Regions from separate parts of the Homo sapiens genome. Here all the other regions are linked to region 4. The links are contacts of gene promoters, found by promoter capture Hi-C in blood cells and fetal thymus (Javierre and others, 2016). All regions are on one chromosome and are shown on one strand. The core of a region is centred on a gene start or on the middle of the fragment in contact, and the rest is flanking DNA. Distances in the headings are between cores, read along the strand shown.

What was found. The method cuts DNA at HindIII sites, captures the fragments that hold promoters and counts their contacts. A CHiCAGO score of 5 or more calls a contact.
Region 1: a fragment that was not itself captured here is called in contact with the fragment with the promoter of FLJ20712 in region 4 in 2 of 17 cell types (megakaryocytes and M1 macrophages); the score reaches 6.3 in megakaryocytes.
Region 2: a contact is called between a fragment that was not itself captured here and the fragment with the promoter of FLJ20712 in region 4, in 1 of 17 cell types (M2 macrophages). The highest score is 5.9, in M2 macrophages.
Region 3: a contact is called between a fragment that was not itself captured here and the fragment with the promoter of FLJ20712 in region 4, in 1 of 17 cell types (endothelial precursors). The highest score is 6.2, in endothelial precursors.

What each region holds. Positions count from the first base shown.
Region 1 is chr7:33,421,013-33,425,238 of GRCh38, forward strand. All of the region lies in intron 19 of BBS9 (Bardet-Biedl syndrome 9), which reads left to right. Among named protein-coding and RNA genes, the nearest start is that of BBS9, 290 kb to the left of the region's middle. The HindIII fragment of the contact is 1,451 bases long and covers 1,392-2,842 here.
Region 2 is chr7:33,235,987-33,240,077 of GRCh38, forward strand. The region is part of intron 5 of BBS9 (Bardet-Biedl syndrome 9); the gene reads left to right. Among named protein-coding and RNA genes, the nearest start is that of BBS9, 110 kb to the left of the region's middle. The HindIII fragment of the contact is 2,527 bases long and covers 516-3,042 here.
Region 3 is chr7:33,252,021-33,256,288 of GRCh38, forward strand. All of the region lies in intron 5 of BBS9 (Bardet-Biedl syndrome 9), which reads left to right. Among named protein-coding and RNA genes, the nearest start is that of BBS9, 120 kb to the left of the region's middle. The HindIII fragment of the contact is 1,344 bases long and covers 1,874-3,217 here.
Region 4 is chr7:33,723,743-33,727,762 of GRCh38, forward strand. FLJ20712 (a long non-coding RNA gene) reads left to right here and starts at 2,239. Exons shown (of 2, transcript NR_165282.1): 1 at 2,239-2,367; 2 at 3,786-4,020. The HindIII fragment of the contact is 5,749 bases long and covers 1-3,457 here.

The sequences.
Region 1 (4,226 bases), core at 867-3,366, 300 kb before region 4:
TGCTTTTCAGCGAAAGAACTTCATGCAGAATGTTGACTGCAGGTGTGTTTTGGAGGAGGCAGTAAAGGAGTAGAAATGGAAGGATTGATCATTAGATAAAGCAGGTTTAAGTCATTTGGCTATTTAAACTGTAGAACTGCCTGCTTTAATTTGGTGAGGATTTTTAATTTTTTTTTTTTTTACTGTAAACAAATGATTCTACAAACTGTGAGTCCAAGTAGGTACGTCCAAGGAATTTACAGCGACTTTTACATGATTGAAGATAGAACTTTGAATTTGTTTAGAAGAAAAAAGATCTAGTCGTGAGGGAGTGCAAAACATACACCATTTAAAAATACTCCCTGTCATACATCATAATCAACTATTGCATGTGTAGCCATTTATTAATATGTGAGCATGATGATACTTGGTGTGTATGTTTGTAAACTATATCCATTTTGTTAGTTGAAAATATTCTTAATTATTCATAGAAATGTATAAACCTCCATGAGAACGTTTTAACCAGATGTAGCAAAGACCTAGGCATACTTTATTGATCATTTTGTACAGAACATTAGGGAATGTTCCAGCAGAGTGCAGCAAAAGCTAGTTATTGCAAAACATACTCTTGTCTTTTCTTAGTCAGTCTGGAATGTTGAGATATAGAGGGATTTAAGATTTTAAAAATGATGGAAACAAACAGTAGAGATCTTGGAACAATGTTCTATGTGCACTCCTGCTCCCCATCCTCTGAGAAGGCCTCAAACAAGAAAAGCATTCTCTAATTTACTAAGTAACACTGATCTTTCTTAAAGAAAGGACATGGTTGGTACCTCCAGATAACACTTGAAAATTAGCATGGTGTATTTTACTTGCTTTTCTTTTCAATATAACTTTTTAAAAAAGTACACAAGTACTAAATATCAGAATTCTTTGTCAGAAAATACAGAAAAGGGAAGGGAATAAAAATAAACAATACCCTAATTGCACCACCCAGAAAATCATAGTTTAAATTTAGTATATAGCCTTCCAGATTTATGAATGTGTTGGATTATGTATAAATATAAATAAGAAATAGAAATATTTTTAAATTGGGTCATAAGGTACATACTGTTTGGAAAGTGCTTTTTCTTGTAAATATAAATTGTATGTACGGTTATAGCTGCTATAGCTTTTCGTAAATATAGTTAACTCTGGTTGCTAGTTTCAGTTATGTTTGTATGGTATGCTCCTGTCTTTTAAAAAATGTGTGACATATTACTTCACAGTAACATGTAAGTAATTCATTTTACTTTGTGAATAAATATTATTCTGATGCAGACCACTGTATATTTGATGTGTACCACAAAGAATAAATATTTACCATAGCAGAATTAGCTGATTTTTCTTACTGTTGGTGATTTACTTTAAGAAGCTTCTCTTTCTAACTTCTAGCCCATTTTTAGAGAGAAAGTGATATTTTTTAGTGGTTTGTGATTACATAGTGATGATACTTTAATTGTGTTGGTGTTTTTAAGAATATTGGCTAAGTAGTAAAATAGTTGCCCAACTTTTCCTGCTTTCTAGCTACCACAATTCAATTACTTTTGATTGTCCTGCTTTAAATTCCTACTTTATAATAATTATGTCTTCTGTTTATAATGTGATAATTTAAGAATAGAAGCACAAAAGATTATATTTGGCTCTCAACAATGAGAAGACAGCTAATTACCAGAGAAACAGAGCTATCAGATTTTTAAAGAAAAGTATAATTAATAAATGCGAATGTTCAGTTTATTTTTTATTTTTATTTTTTAAAAATAAAGACAGGGTCTTGCTGTGTTTCCCAGGCTGGTCTCAAACTCTTGGCCTCAAGCAATCCTCTCGCCTTTTCCTCCTAAAGTGCTGGGATTACAGGCATGAGCCATCCGTGCCTGGCCTTAGTTTATATATGAGCACATCTGTTTGAATTATGTCTGGCACATGAATGTCCCTGAAGGAATACTGGCTGGAAGAGAACTTGGGGTGACTAGGTCAATGACCCTTCTATCAGAACTGAATGCCGCTTTCCAAACAGGCCAGGACAGTGATCATGAGTGCCAGGGATCGGAACACTTTGCTGATTTAGGAGGTAGAAAGTCAGCCAAATTGGAAGCTGTAGCCATGTTAAAGATACTACAGAAGCTACCTGCTGAGGGGCTGAGACATTAACAGGCCTGGCTACGTGATAAGATTGACCACAAAAGCACAAGTGCGGACCCGATTCCATAGCAGAGAACATCTGCCTCTGCTGCTGGGGTCAGGAGCAGCCTGGAGCCTGTGGGAATACAGCAGGGGAGGCATGTATCACCTTGCTGTAACCACTGGTTCTTCAAGCACAAAATCAAAAAGATAGAATTTTAAAATGAAAATGTATACCTTGGGGGTGTGTGTGTGTGTGTGTGTTTCTAGCTATAAGGGGATGAGAAAAACAAAGGTTTTTGAGTCAGGGCCCACGGGTGTGCACACTGTGCTTCTGGTAGCAGGGTCTAGGATTAAGAGGGCCTTTCATATGATGTGTGAAGAATATATAAATGTAGAAAGCAAAAAAAAAAAAGTATTTAAAAATCTTGCATTGTTTCAGCAACACAATTCAGAGTCAGTAAACTTCAGAAATTATAGGTGCCCCAGGAAATAAATTAAAGGCCTGGGATCATTACTTTACAAGAATGAGCATACCAGGACATTTCGAGACCAAATTTAGTTTCTGTTCCTTCTTCAAAGACAAAACTTGAAGTCTTCTTTCAGTATGTTAATTTAAACCTCTCTAAAAACCTTGTAATTGGGGTAAGCAGCCACCAGGGGGTAGCCATGATTTGGTTAAAATTACAAGTCTGACTAGTAAAGCTTTTTCCCAGGTGGGAAAGTGAAAGGACCACTTTGATTCCTTTTTGAAGTGAAGCAAATAAAATGAAAAGAAAGTTCAGTAAATTTTACTAAACTTTCAATTAATTTCTTGATTGGTTTAAAGGACACTTTTTGAGTTTTCAGCTACTCAGTGGCATTTTTTTGCTCCGGCCACCAGCAATACAGTCTGTCTCAAACTTGACATTAACTAATGATGAACTTTGCTTTTCTCATCACCTTGTAGCTGGAAAAACACACACATACACTATGTGTATTGTATATTTAAAAAAATTCTATCTTTTTGATTTCATGCTTGAAGAACAAGTGGTTCCAGCAAGGTGATTATGGAAGAATATAGGAAAACTTGGCTTATCATTTCCAGAGAATAGAGAGAAGATTACTTTCTATTCTTATAAAAGGAGAGAACTCTTCCTTTTCCAAAGAACAGTTTTCTGCTGCCAGCTAGATGCTGCTTGAAATGTATACATTTGACACTTTAGTAGTTCTGAAATTTGCTTTGGGTTCAGTCTGGAGGGGAACATTAAAAAATACAGATTCCTGAGCTCCACCCTTAGACTCACCAAATTTCAAACGAGAAGAGATGTTTTTTTTAAAAGGTTCCCTGGTGATTCTGAGGCAGGGTCCAGGAAAATGCCTGGCAGCCTTCTCTCTTGTAATGTGTGAGAACTACACTAGTAAGAGAATATCTCAAAATGAACTTTTAAAAAAGTTCCTGTTACCAGAAACAGGTATTTAAAAATATCTAAAAAAAGCACATGTAATAAGACTTTAAGCAGAGGGTTTAACAGAATTTTGTAGGAAATTTTAATATGCAGACCATAGTGTAATGAAATTTCTTATTTGGGGGTTTCTTCTTTTATACTGATGGCCGTATAATTATAAGATTTTTTTTAATGGAAATGGAAATGTACTTCCTTGTTTAGCTGCTATTTAAGAAGGATCTAGAATATGGAGTAACTGAAGTTCCTGTTATAACTTAAGAGATTTGATCACTCAGAGTAACAGATGTGCAAGTAGATACTCACCATCATGTTATGGTAAAAAAATTTAAAAAGTTTATGATTTTTTGGATATAAATTAATATTTTAAAAATGTTTATTGACCTCTTCTTCCCCTAAAGTATGAAATAAAGGGGAAGTGATCACATTCTATTTTACAGACAAGAAACTGAGCAGTGAGGAGGAAAACCACTTATCTAAGGACATTCTAATCTACAGTAAACACATAGAAGAGTATTGGGTTATTTTGATTCCTGTGCCATTTTGTTATCTACCATTCTACATAAATGGAGAAGTTCTCCTCCCTTCCCAACCCTATGTCTAAACTTACAGTCTAGTTATAGATCCCATTGTTAGTCTTTC
Region 2 (4,091 bases), core at 529-3,028, 490 kb before region 4:
TAAGAAGTATTTTTCCTTATTACACCACTACTGTATTGTTTATAAATTAGAGAATACAAGGTCGGGCATGGTGGTTCATGCCTGTAATCCCAGCACTTTGGGGGGCTGAGGCAGGTGATCACCTGAGGTTGGGAGTTCAAGACCATCCTGACCAACATGGAGAAACCCCATCTCTACTAAAAATACAAAATTAGCTGGGTGTGATGGCACATACCTGCAATCCCAGCTACTCAGGAGGCTGAGGCAGGAGAATTGCTTGAACCCAGGAGGCAGAGGCTGCAGTGAGCCGAGATTGTACCATTTTACTCCAGCCTGGGTGACAGAGTGATACTCCATCTCAAAAAAAAAAAAAAAGAAAAAAAAATTAGAGAATACAGTTAAATGAATACAAAACAATTACGACTGTGGATGTTGTTAAATTTTATGACTAATTGTGATTGCTAATTCAGAATTTTATATATTTATTTATATACACATACATACTTTAAACAAAATGGGTTATACTGTCCATTATAAGCTTTTCCCCTTACAATATACTATGCCTGTCTTTCTATGGCAATATATATAAATCTACCTCATCATTTAAAAAATACATAATTTATAAATATTTATACAACACATTATAATATGTGCTAGTAGGATTGTTATTGTTTTTAATGTATTTTAATTGACAATTTTATATATTAATGGGGTACAATGTAATATTTTGATCTATGTATACATTGTAGAAAGATTAAATGAAGCTAATTAACATATCCTTCACCTTATCAACTTATTTTTTTTGTGTGGTGAGAACATTAAAAATCTGTTCTTTTAGCAATTTTGAAATATACATTACATTATTATTAACTGTGGTCACTGCGCAGTACAATAGATCATTAAAACTTACTCCTCCAGTCTAATTGAAACTTTGTACCCTTTTACCTCATCATTTTTAATGACGTACAATTTGTGTTTTACACATGCATACACATTATAATTAATTTAATCAGTCATCTGTTGATGTATATCTAATGCTTTCAATAGTTTTTATATTTATAAATCATTGAACTTATTTGTAATTCTTTATATATTAAAAATATAAAATGAATACATTTTTATTAAACCAAAACTGAAAAGTTCCTTTTCATTTCCCTTCTGCAGATGAAATCTCACTCTTGTGCCAAGGTAAATAAAATAGTGAGCAACCTTGCAGTTGGATACAATGTTCAATGCGTTTATAAACATATTTGGTTCTGTTTTATGTTGTTTTACATAAATGAGGTCACTCTGTATATTAGCTTGTAACTTCCTCATTTCAGTTACACGGACATCTTTTCATGTCCAAACACACAGACTTTTGTTCTTCTTTGAGCTATGTACAATTCTATATTTGGATATTTCATTATTTAGTCATTGAGATTGCTTCTAAAATTTCAATTATGGACAGTGTGTTTTTGCAGTGGCTCACTCTGCCTTAGTATATGCCTTTACAGTAAAGCCCATGGGTGTGTATCCTCTTGATCTGTCTGTGACATACATTTTAGCATTTACATTTAATTTCACTTAAGAGTAGTGGTATGTGTTGATCTTGTGGTGGAAAATAGAGGCAGTTGGCTAAATATTCTAGAAAGTTTGCAGAGAGCTTGATCAAATAAGCTCAGAGGAAGAGGTTCCTCACTTCAGGATTACCACATTCATCTAGTACCTTCTTCAACAACCATTTAAATTAACCTTCTCACTGAAAGCCCATTTGGCTAATGGAAGATTTTCACTGACTTTTCACTCTATGAAAATAAATTGATAAAGATTCAGGAGTTATCAGCTCTAGGTATGCTTCTCAGTAATGGATGCTTATTCAAACTTTTACTCTTGTGACAATCAAGATCAGTAGAAGTCTGGTTTTTTGATGGTTCAGATGACAAATTTCAGTGGATAGAAATTGTGTCAACTGCTTTCTGATGAGGTGAAAGCCTGCTCTTTCTGTCCTCTCTTCTCTTCCTCTCCTCCCTCATCCTCAAGAATAGAGAGCCATTTCATATACAGTGGACATTGTTTGCTCCATTAAATAACAATAGTCTTTTCAGACTGACTGCTTATTATCTAAGTGCTTTTGGAAAGAGGGATATAAATCCGCCAATATTTAGGTCACCATTTTTGCTAAAAGTCTTCTAACACATTTGCCTTCTTGCCAAGGTTCAATATACATGTTTGAACATGTGATTTTAAAAAATGTGTGCCCAAACTTTGATCATCATGTCCCATGGCAGAGTCAGTCATTGGTGGGGCCTGAACTTCAGGAATAGTGGGGAGTGTGATTCCTCAAAGGTCTTTTTTTTTTTGAGACGGAGTTTCGCTCTTGCTGTCCAGGCTGGAGTGCAATGGCGCGATCTTAGCTCACTGCAACCTCCACCTCCTAGTTTCAAGCAATTCTCCTGCCTCAGCCTCCTGAGTAGCTGGGATTATAGGCATGGGCCACCACGCCTGGCTAATTTTTGTATTTTTTTTAGTAGAGACAGGGTTTCTCCATGTTGGTCAGGCTGGTCTCGAACTCCCAACCTCAGGTTATCTGCCCGCTTCAGCCTCCAAAAGTGCTGAGATTACAGGTGTGAGACAACATGACCGACCCTTGTTTTTATTTTAACTTAAGTAACATGCTCATTGTAGAAAACTTCATATGAAGTTTGCATTAAGAGGGAAAAAGTATTTTCTATTTTTGCCACTGAGAGCTTTAACCAAATGAGTATTTTAGGATTTTTTTTAGCCTTTTTACTGTGAATTTATATGCAGTAAAAGTGGATTCATATTGTATTTATTAATTTAAAGTCCTTTTCTCACTTAAAAATATTGTGAGCATTTCCCCAAGTCAATAATTATTCTATTGCAATATAAATCTAAATGGTCGTAAAGAATTCTGTGGTATACCCCTATTAGTGGAATTGTTTCTAATATTTTGCTTAAAAAATACTGTGGTTATAAATTACCAGTATTTGAATCTCCATGAGTGTTCATTTCTGATATTTCTTTAGAATCAAATCCCAGGACTGGATAATTGGGACAAAAAGCTTTTGACGCATACTTTAAATTGTCTTATGTCACAGAGATGGGCTTAATTTATGTTTTCATTAGCTGTGTGTAATATCTGTGCCAATACCAGGTAGTATCATTTTTTGAAAGTTTTTAAAAGTTCCTAATCTTCATCAGGCAAAAGTGACATCTTCTTATATTTGCATAATTTATAATAATAATAAAAAATATATTGGGGACTTACTTGGTGCTACTACCTACGACTACGCTAAGGATTTAAACTAAACTTTCTCATTTAATCCTTAAAACAACCCTGTAAAATAGGTGATCATTCTCCTTTTAGGCATGAGAAAATTTAAGATTTGCAAGATTAAGCAATCTGCCCATGAACACACAGCCTATGAGTGGTGGGTTATCTTTTTAACTTTTTTTTTTTGAGACAGAGTCTTGCTCTGTCACCAGGCTGGAGTGCAGTGGTGCAATCTCGGCTCACTGCAACCTCTGATTCCCTGGTTCAAGCGATTCTCCTGCCTCAGTCTCCCAAGTAGCTGGGATTACAGGCACGTGCCACCATGCCCCAACTTTGCCTAATCATACAGATGTTTTAATTTTTTATGATATCAAATATTTTAATCTTTTGTTATGGCTTCTGATCTTTGTATTCTCATTAAGACCTTTCCTATACTAACATTCTAAAATATTTAATGTCTTTTCTTAAATTTATTTTTAGATATGGACTAGGCATGGTGGCCCACATCTATAATCCCAGTGCTTTGGTTGTCTGAGGCAGGTGGATTGCTTGAGGCCAGGAATTCAAGACCAGCCTGAGCAATGTAGACCCCATCTCTAAAAAAATATAAAAAATTAGCCAGGCATGGTGGTGCTGCACACCTGTAGTCTCAGCTGCTTCAGAGGCTGAGGTAGGAGGATCCCATGAGTCCAGGAGTTTGAGGCTGCAGTGATTGTGCCACCGTACTCCAGTCTGGGTGACAGAGCAAGACCCTGTCTTAAAAAAGTATTTTTTAAAGATTTGGTTTACAGTAGGGCTCCAGTTTTCCCCCCAAACATTTATCCAGTTGTCCAGG
Region 3 (4,268 bases), core at 1,296-3,795, 470 kb before region 4:
GGCATCTGCTTGGCTTCTGGGGAGGCCTCAGGAAACTTACAATCACGGTGGAAGGCAAAGGAGGAGCACACATGTCACATAGTGAGAGCAGGAGCAAGAGAGGGAGGGGGGAGGTGCTACACACTTTTAAACAACAAGATGTCGTGATAAATCACTCACTATCATAAGAACAGTACCAAGGGGATGGTGCTAAGCCATTCATGAAGGACCACCCTCGTGATCCAATTACCTCCCTCCCTCCAGGCTCCACCTCCAACATTGGAGATTACAATTTGACATGAGATTTGGACAGGGACACAGATCCAAACCATATCATATGCTAACAGGCCAGGTTTTCTCTGGGGCTCAAGCTTTCTTCAGGCCTTACTTTTTCATCCTATCATGCTAAGGTAGTGGTTCTGAAACTTTAGCATGCACCGTAGTAGTCTCTAGGCTTGTTAAAACCTAGCATTTCTGGGCTCTGTGACCAGAGTTTCTCATATGGTAGGCCTAGATTGGTATCTTAGAATTGGCATTTCTGAGAAGTTCCTAGGTGATGCAAATGGTGCTGGTCTGGGGGCCACATTTTGAAGACCACTTCTTTGAGGTCTTTGGGAGACTGAAGATTTGTGGTTCGATGATACCACATATTGAAATGAACACAAATTTTATTGGTACTTCTGCTTGCAAGTACACATGTTCTGAGCTTACAGTCTTCAATAACACAGATATCAAGAGTATTATTTTGGTTACCATAATATCTTCCACCGCAGGTCAAGGTCATTGCATAAATATTTCATATCTTAATAGAAAATATATCGACATTTGTATTTACATACAAAATGTATATATTTAGACTTAATTTTTTTATATTTTTGTTGTGAAAAAGTATATAGAAAAAGTAAAATGAAAACCCATATTTCTACCACATCAAGTTGTAAATATATATGTATTTATACACTTTTTTTGATGAACCATTTGAAAGTGAGTTACACATCTTGCACCACTTTACCATAAATACGTCAGCACACATCTCCCAATGAGAATATTCTCTTACATTTCACAACGCCATGATCACTTAAGAAAATTAGCAATAATTCCTTAATGTTATCTAACATGCAGTCATATTCAAATTCCCCCAATTGTCCCAATATCTTTCCTATACCTGTTATTTTTGGTACCAGGGTTCAGTTAAGTGAAACTAAATTTTAAGAGACAGCAATGCTGGATGGATCTTTAGGCTCAGATTAGGTTCTGTGTTATTTAAGATCTGGGTTTGGTTGCTTTAACAAAGACTAGACTTAATGATGGCTTAAATAAGAAAGATGTTTGGCCGGGCGCAGTGGCTTAATCCCTGTAATTCCAGGACTTTGGGAGGCTGAGGTGAGCGGATCACCTGAGGTCAGAAGTTCATGACCAGCCTGGCCAACATGGTGAAACCTCATCTTTACTAAAAATACAAAAATCAGCCAGGGGTGGTGGCGAGCTTGTAATCTCAATTACTCGGGAGGCTGAGGCAGGAGAATTGCTTGAACCCGGGAGGAGGAGGTTGCAGTGAGCCAAGATCGTGCCACTGCACTCCAGCCTGGGCGAGGGAGCGAGACTCCATCTCAGAACAAAACAAAAAGATGTTTATTTCTGTCGTGTTTAACCATCTGGAGATAAAGGAGTCTAGGGCTGATAGAGAGGCTCTGCTGTCCACAATACGTGACTTTCATCTCTGAGGCCAAGACAACTGCTCCAGCCTTACCATGATGCTACAAAGAGGGGAGGGAAGTGTATAGTTGGTCCATGTAAGGGCATGTCTGCAAGTTGTATGTATAACCTCTGCTCCTATCTTGTTGAGAAGAACATAATAATATGATGCGTCTGTAAATAGAGGACTGTAAGTGGAAGCTTTATTTTGGATGGCCATGTGTCTAGTGATAATTCATGATTCTACTACTAAAGAAAGAATGGCTGTTGGGGGCAGCAGTTAGCATCTCTGCCAAAAGTTCTTTTTTGCAAAAAAAGAGCTATACCAAACTATATTAAATCCACTTAACAATGATATTTCTCTTTTTGAGATATATAGGGCTCATAATTGCTCCTATGCTAACTGAGCCCAGACAGATGTTCTTTTTTGGATTATTTGATATGTGTTTTATAGATGTTCTCTTTTATTTTTGTTAGGGCATTAGCTGTCATTTCTCACAGCTGACAGTGTCTTCACCCCCTTTCTAATTTACCACTTTCTTTTTTTCTGGGCTAGGGAAGCAGGTAATAATAACCCTCTTAATAATGCTATAATTTATTCTGTGTCTTATGTGTGCTATACCATGTTAGGGACTTTGACATCTTTCCTCTAACTTTGGAACTCTTTTTCAGCATTATTGAGATATGATTGATAAATAAAAATTATATATCTTCAAGGTGTGTACAATGTGATGTTCTGATATACATATACATTGTGTAATGATTACCAGAATCAAGCTAATTAATATTAGTATGGATCACTTCTCATAATTATCTTCTTTTTTGTGATGAGAACAAAGATCTATTCTCTTAGCAAATTTCAAGTGTCCATTATTATTCACTGTAATCACTGTGCTGTGCATTAGGTCTCCAGAACTTACTCATATTATAACTGCAAGTGTATATCATTTGACCAATATTTCCTTGCTTTCCCCATCCCTGACCCCTGGTAAGCACCCTGCTACTCTCTGTTTCTATGAATTTGACTTTTAAAAAATATTACACGTATGAGTGAGATCATGTAGTGTTTGTCTTTTGTTGTCTGGCTTATTTCATTTAGCATGATGTTCTCTAGGTTCATCCATGTTGTTGTAAATGGTAGGATTTCTTTCTTTTTTTCTAACATGTGAGGTGATATCTCATTGTGGTTTTGATTTACATTTCCCTGATAATTAGCAATGTTGAGCACCTTTTCATATACCTGTTGGCGATTTGTATGTCTTATTTGGAAAAATGTCTATTTTAGTCCTTTGCCCATTTTTGAATTGGTTTATTTGTTTTTTGTTATTGAGTTGTGTGAGCTTCTTATATCTTTTAGAGACTAATTGCTTATCAGATATATGATTTGCAAATATTTTCTCCCATTATGTGTTTTTTTGTTGATTGTTTTCTTTGCTGTGCAGAAAATTTTTAGTTTGATGTAGTCCTCCCCTCTATTTTTTGTTTTGTTGCTTGTGCTTTTTGTGTCCTATCCAAAAAATCATTGCCAATACCAATGCCATGAAGCTTTTTACCATATGTTTACCTTCTGGAAGTTTTACAGCTTCAGATCTTTGGTTTAAATCTTTAATCTACTTTGAGTGGATTTTGGTTGTATAGTGTAAGATAAGGATCTTTTTTTTTTTTTTTTGCATGTGGATATCCAGTTTTCCCAGCACCACTTATTGAAGAGACTGTTCTTTCACCATTGTGTATTCTTGGCGCCTTTGCTGAAGATTAGCTGATAACCTTGGAGCTCTTATACAAATATACTCATTTTACAAATGAGAAGGCTGAAGCTACAGGAATATCAGTAACTTGTTTATAAAAACGACAATTCTTAGAACCATAATTAAAATAAGAATTGATGCCCTTAGTGGGACCTGGGAATCCTACCTTTGAAAATTTGCATGATTTTTATTACAAAGACCTTGCAGCATTTATTTTAACTACTTAGAGGCATTTTTATACTTACTCATTTTTGCTGATTGCAGACAGGTAGGTTTGCCAGATAGCTAGATGAGATTCTTTTTGTCTGATTGTGTCTCTGTGAATACATGTGTACAGCATGCATATACATACAACATGCATATAAACTCACATCTTTTTTGGAAACTTTTAATAGCATAGTGGATAAGGATAACATTAAAAAAACAAAGCTTAGGCTGGGCGTGGTGGCTCACGCCTGTAGTCCCAGCACTTTGGAAGGCCAAGGTGGGCGGATCATGAGGTCAAGAGATCGAGACCATCCTGGCCAACATGGTTGAAACCCTGTCTCTACTAAAAGTACAAAAATTAGCTGGGCGTGGTGGTGCCTGTAGTCCCAGCTACTTGGGAGGCTGAGGTGGGAGAATCACTTGAACCCAGGAGGTGGAGGTTGCAGTGAGCTGAGATCGTGCCACTGCACTCCAGCGTGGCAACAGAGTGAGACTCTGTCTCAAATAAAAACAAACAAAAAAAACAAACAAAAAAAACCAAAACAACAAAAACAAAGCTTAAAACAGTAACTGTAAAGCCTACCATACGTTATAAAAGAATCTGAGTATTGAGAGAATACTTTTCAAACAGCATTAATA
Region 4 (4,020 bases), core at 989-3,488:
TAAGTTCTCATTGCGGGAGGGAGCAGAAGGTAATTTCAGAAAGAGCTTGTGCTGATCTTTCGAACTGTTTCTCCCAAATTCTGGAGTATCCAAAGAAAGCAGGGTTATCTGCCAGAATGTATCAGAAAGATAGCAGGCATGTGAATTCTACATTAACTATAGGGCATAAGAAATTTCATGTTTCTTTTATTACTTTAAGCTAAATTTGATATGCCACTGTAGCCATCCTGCCAGGATGGTAGGAAATTCAGTTGCAGACTTTCCTGAAATGCCCCTTCCTCTCAGTTCCTGTGGCCACTCGCCCAGATCGTTTGGATAGAGTCCTCTGGTCTTCGGTCCACAGGGGTGACTACTGATGTGCTCATCTGCTAAGTCCTCATGCTCCTGGGAGGCTGGTGGCTCCACCATTCCTTGGCAGAGCTTTGCCATTGCTACGATTTCTCCCTGAGGCCCTGTCACCTCCCGAGGGTTGCCAGAGAAGGAGAGCCTCCACACCTGGGATCACAGCTCCCTTCCCTTCCAGTCCCGGGGAGACACTAGAATCCTTTGAAGGTTCCCTTTTCTATCAGGACTGTCTCCTTCTCCACCTTTTGGAGAAGATGAAGGGTAATCTCCCTTGAGAGAGCCTGTGGAGACACAATGATGGCCTCTGTTCTTTAGGAATGGGGAAAAGATAAGTTATCTAGGTTAACTGGGATTAACTAATTCTGTTACTGAGCTGGGTGACAAGATGGGATTGGGGAATTTGTTTGGGGACTCAGTGAGGACATGCAGGAGACAGATTCAAAGAATCACATGTGAAATGGACAGGGCTCTGATCCCTCTAAAATATCTGTTGCTTTCCTTCTTCCACTTCGACCCCTATCCCCCATAATTCTTCTGTCTTTTTTTGGAGACAGAATCTTGTTCTGTCACCAGCCTGGAGTGCAGTGGAGCGATCTTGGCTCACTGCAACCTCTGTCTCCTGGGTTCAAGAGATTCTCCTGCCTCAGCCTCCCGAATAGCTGGGACTACAGGTGTGTGCCACCACGCCCAGCTAATTTTTGTATTTTTAGTAGAGACGGGGTTTCACCAGGTTGGCCAGGATGGTCTCGATCTGTGGACCTCGTGATCTGCCTGCCTCAGCCTCCCAAAGTGCTGGGATTACAGGCGTGAGCCACTGCTCCCAGCCAATTCTTCTATCTTTAAAAGGTAACCCAGGTTGGGAGGGAAGGCTGGGAGCACAGCAGAAGACAGAACTGCTTTGTTGAGCCCCAGAACCGGCAGCGGATACTCCCTGCCAATCACATGGCACTCACCTCTTTGTGTAAATTTAGAAGGTGCTTGCCCAGGAACAATCTGGCTTGACTGTCACAGCCATCCTGCAAGGTAAGTGGGGCAGTCGTTAACCCCATTTTCCAGATAAGGAAGCTGAGGCTCACATTGATTAAAAGACTTGCCCAAAGTAACCAAGCTGTTGAGGGGCAAAGCAGCAGGACATAGCATCCAGGTCTCTTGACTTTTGCTTCAAGAGCCCACAGCCACACTCGGTGCTTAGATGAGGCTTTGGCTTATCAGTGATTTGTGATGTTTGCCTTTTGCCAAAGAGGGGGATGGCTGAAGAGCTAGTGCCCTGACATTCTGGACTCTTGCCAGTAGATTTTGTCTGACTCTTGCTCTGATGCTATTCTTTGTTATTTTCAGGAAGGGGAGCTAGATGTAGAATACATTTCTTTTTCTTGGTAACGTGAACAGCAAGAAGCAAGTAGAGTACATTTCTTATGAGAGAATATGCTCGGGACTTTGATTCATATCTGGTGGGTCCCAAAAGACCAGGGTACTGCAGATTTAAGACCATGTTGCAAATTCGGCATGCATTCAATAGGACTACCTTAGTGAGGGGAGTAATTTTATAAAATTATCAATTCAGTCTCAAAGAATAATAGCAGGAAATGTATTTCTGACTATTTAGAAGTGACTCATTGTGGGACTGTTTGAAAACTATATTATTTTTATCAGTAAATAGAATTGCCTATAGTCAATGTTATCTCTTCACATCCAGGGATTCTAAGATCCGGTTACCCATTTCCCTCAAAACAGCAGATAGCAAAGCCAGGGAAATGAAAACCCACCAAACCTTCTGCAAGGCTGACACCACCCCTAAACCCCACTGCAAACTGATAACACCACACCCTCCTCTGCAAAATAACAGAGGGGCAGATAAGATGAAAATTTTCATTCCAATTAGCAATCATTTCCAGTCAGTGAAACGGCAGAATCAGAAGAGGTTCCACAACCAGAAAATCTTGGCTGGAATTTCACCATCAGGAATAAAACAGAAAAACTAAAAGAGTGCCCCAGATAGCCTTTCTTAGGGGCCTGTGTCAGGTAAGTGCTTTTGAATATTTAAAACAAAGGATGGCTAAGAGTTCTGCAGTCATTTTCCAGTTAAATATCAGATGGTATAAAATATTTTTATAGAAAGTACAGGCCAGGTGCGATGGCTCACACCTGTAATCCCCACACTTTGGGAGACCGAGGTGGGCAGATCACTTGAGGCCAGGTGTTCAAGACCAGTCTGGCTAACATGGCGAAACCCCGTCTCTACTGAAAATACAAAAATTAGCCTGGCGTGGTGATGCACACCAATAATCCCAGCTAGGTCAGGAGGCTGAGGCATGAGAATCGCTTGAACCCGGGAGGTGGAGGTTGCAGTGAGATGAGATCGAACCACTGCACCTCCAGCCTGGGCGACATAGTGACACTGTATCTCAAAAAGAAAAAGAATTCATAATCCACTTTTCATTAGCTGGTATTTGGCCTTACCAAGGTGAAGCATGAAAATGAAATTCTATCTGTATCAGCCAGATTTTCTCAGACACATGTATTCACTGCATGACGGACCCTGGTTTCCAAATTGTTAAGCATACCAGACTCTAGTGAATGCCCTTCCGAAAGGGCCATCATGCAGCAGGCCTTCCCATCGGAGAGCCATGGTCCCAGCCAAGGCAGCTTTCAGGGGTTGCTCCACCACTCTAGGGAGGCGGCCCAGATCTGTCTCTCCCAAACAGTGTCTGGGTTTGACACTTCCTGAGAAAGCAGAGATTGTTCCCTTTGTATGCCATGGCTCTGGAATGCAGCTCTTCCTGTAAGGAAGACAATGGTCTTTATGGGAAGGCTAGGACTTGAAGGAGGTAAGATTTGAACGGCAGAGCTGGGTGCTAGCTTTCCTGCTGAGGGAAATGGTGGGCACAGAACCCCCGCGGTGGGCAAGCTGGGGTGTGGGTGTGCCTGTGGGCTGGCAGGTGACTCTGCCCGGAGCATCGCAGGGGTGGGGAAGAGATCAAGGAGGTAAGAAAGGTAGTCTAGGGGGAGGGGCCCAGAGTTTTGAACACCAGACTTAGGAATCTGGGACATACGTACTGGCCTTTGCCATTCAAAGTGTGGTCCTGGGACCAACAGCATCCTTGGACTTGAAAGCTTGTTAGACACGCAGAAGCCCGGGCTCACCCCAGGCCTGCTGAATCACAACCTGCATTTTAACAAGACCCCCAGGAAATTTCTATCCTCCTTCAAGCACTGCTCTAGGCTAAGAGGAAGCAAGAACAATTTTTAGAGCTGGGGATAAAGTGATGGGAGGAGTGTTTGGGAATGAGGCCACTAGAGTGCTTAGAGAACACTCACTTGGGAGCCCCACAACAATGCAGGCGTGAGTGAAGGAGGGGGGTGGGGGGCTGCGAGGGAGACAGGTTTTCCCCACAAGCCACAAGGCCCGAGGCACGCCTCCTGCCCTGCCTCCACCTCAGGTCGCAGGAATCTTGTTGGTGATCCATCCAGATGTTGTGTGTTCTGGAAGTGGACATCGCGGCTCTGTGTTTTTGAAGTCAGATCTCATTGCTGTGGTTTCTATGCCTGACCCCCCGAAGTTCTTGCTCCTGTTGCCACAGGGAGCCGGGAGAGCACAGAGCGCTGCTCCCGGTGCCCTGCAGCCACACAAACATGCTCCTGCTCCTGGCGGAGGCAGAGCTGCTGGGAAAGACA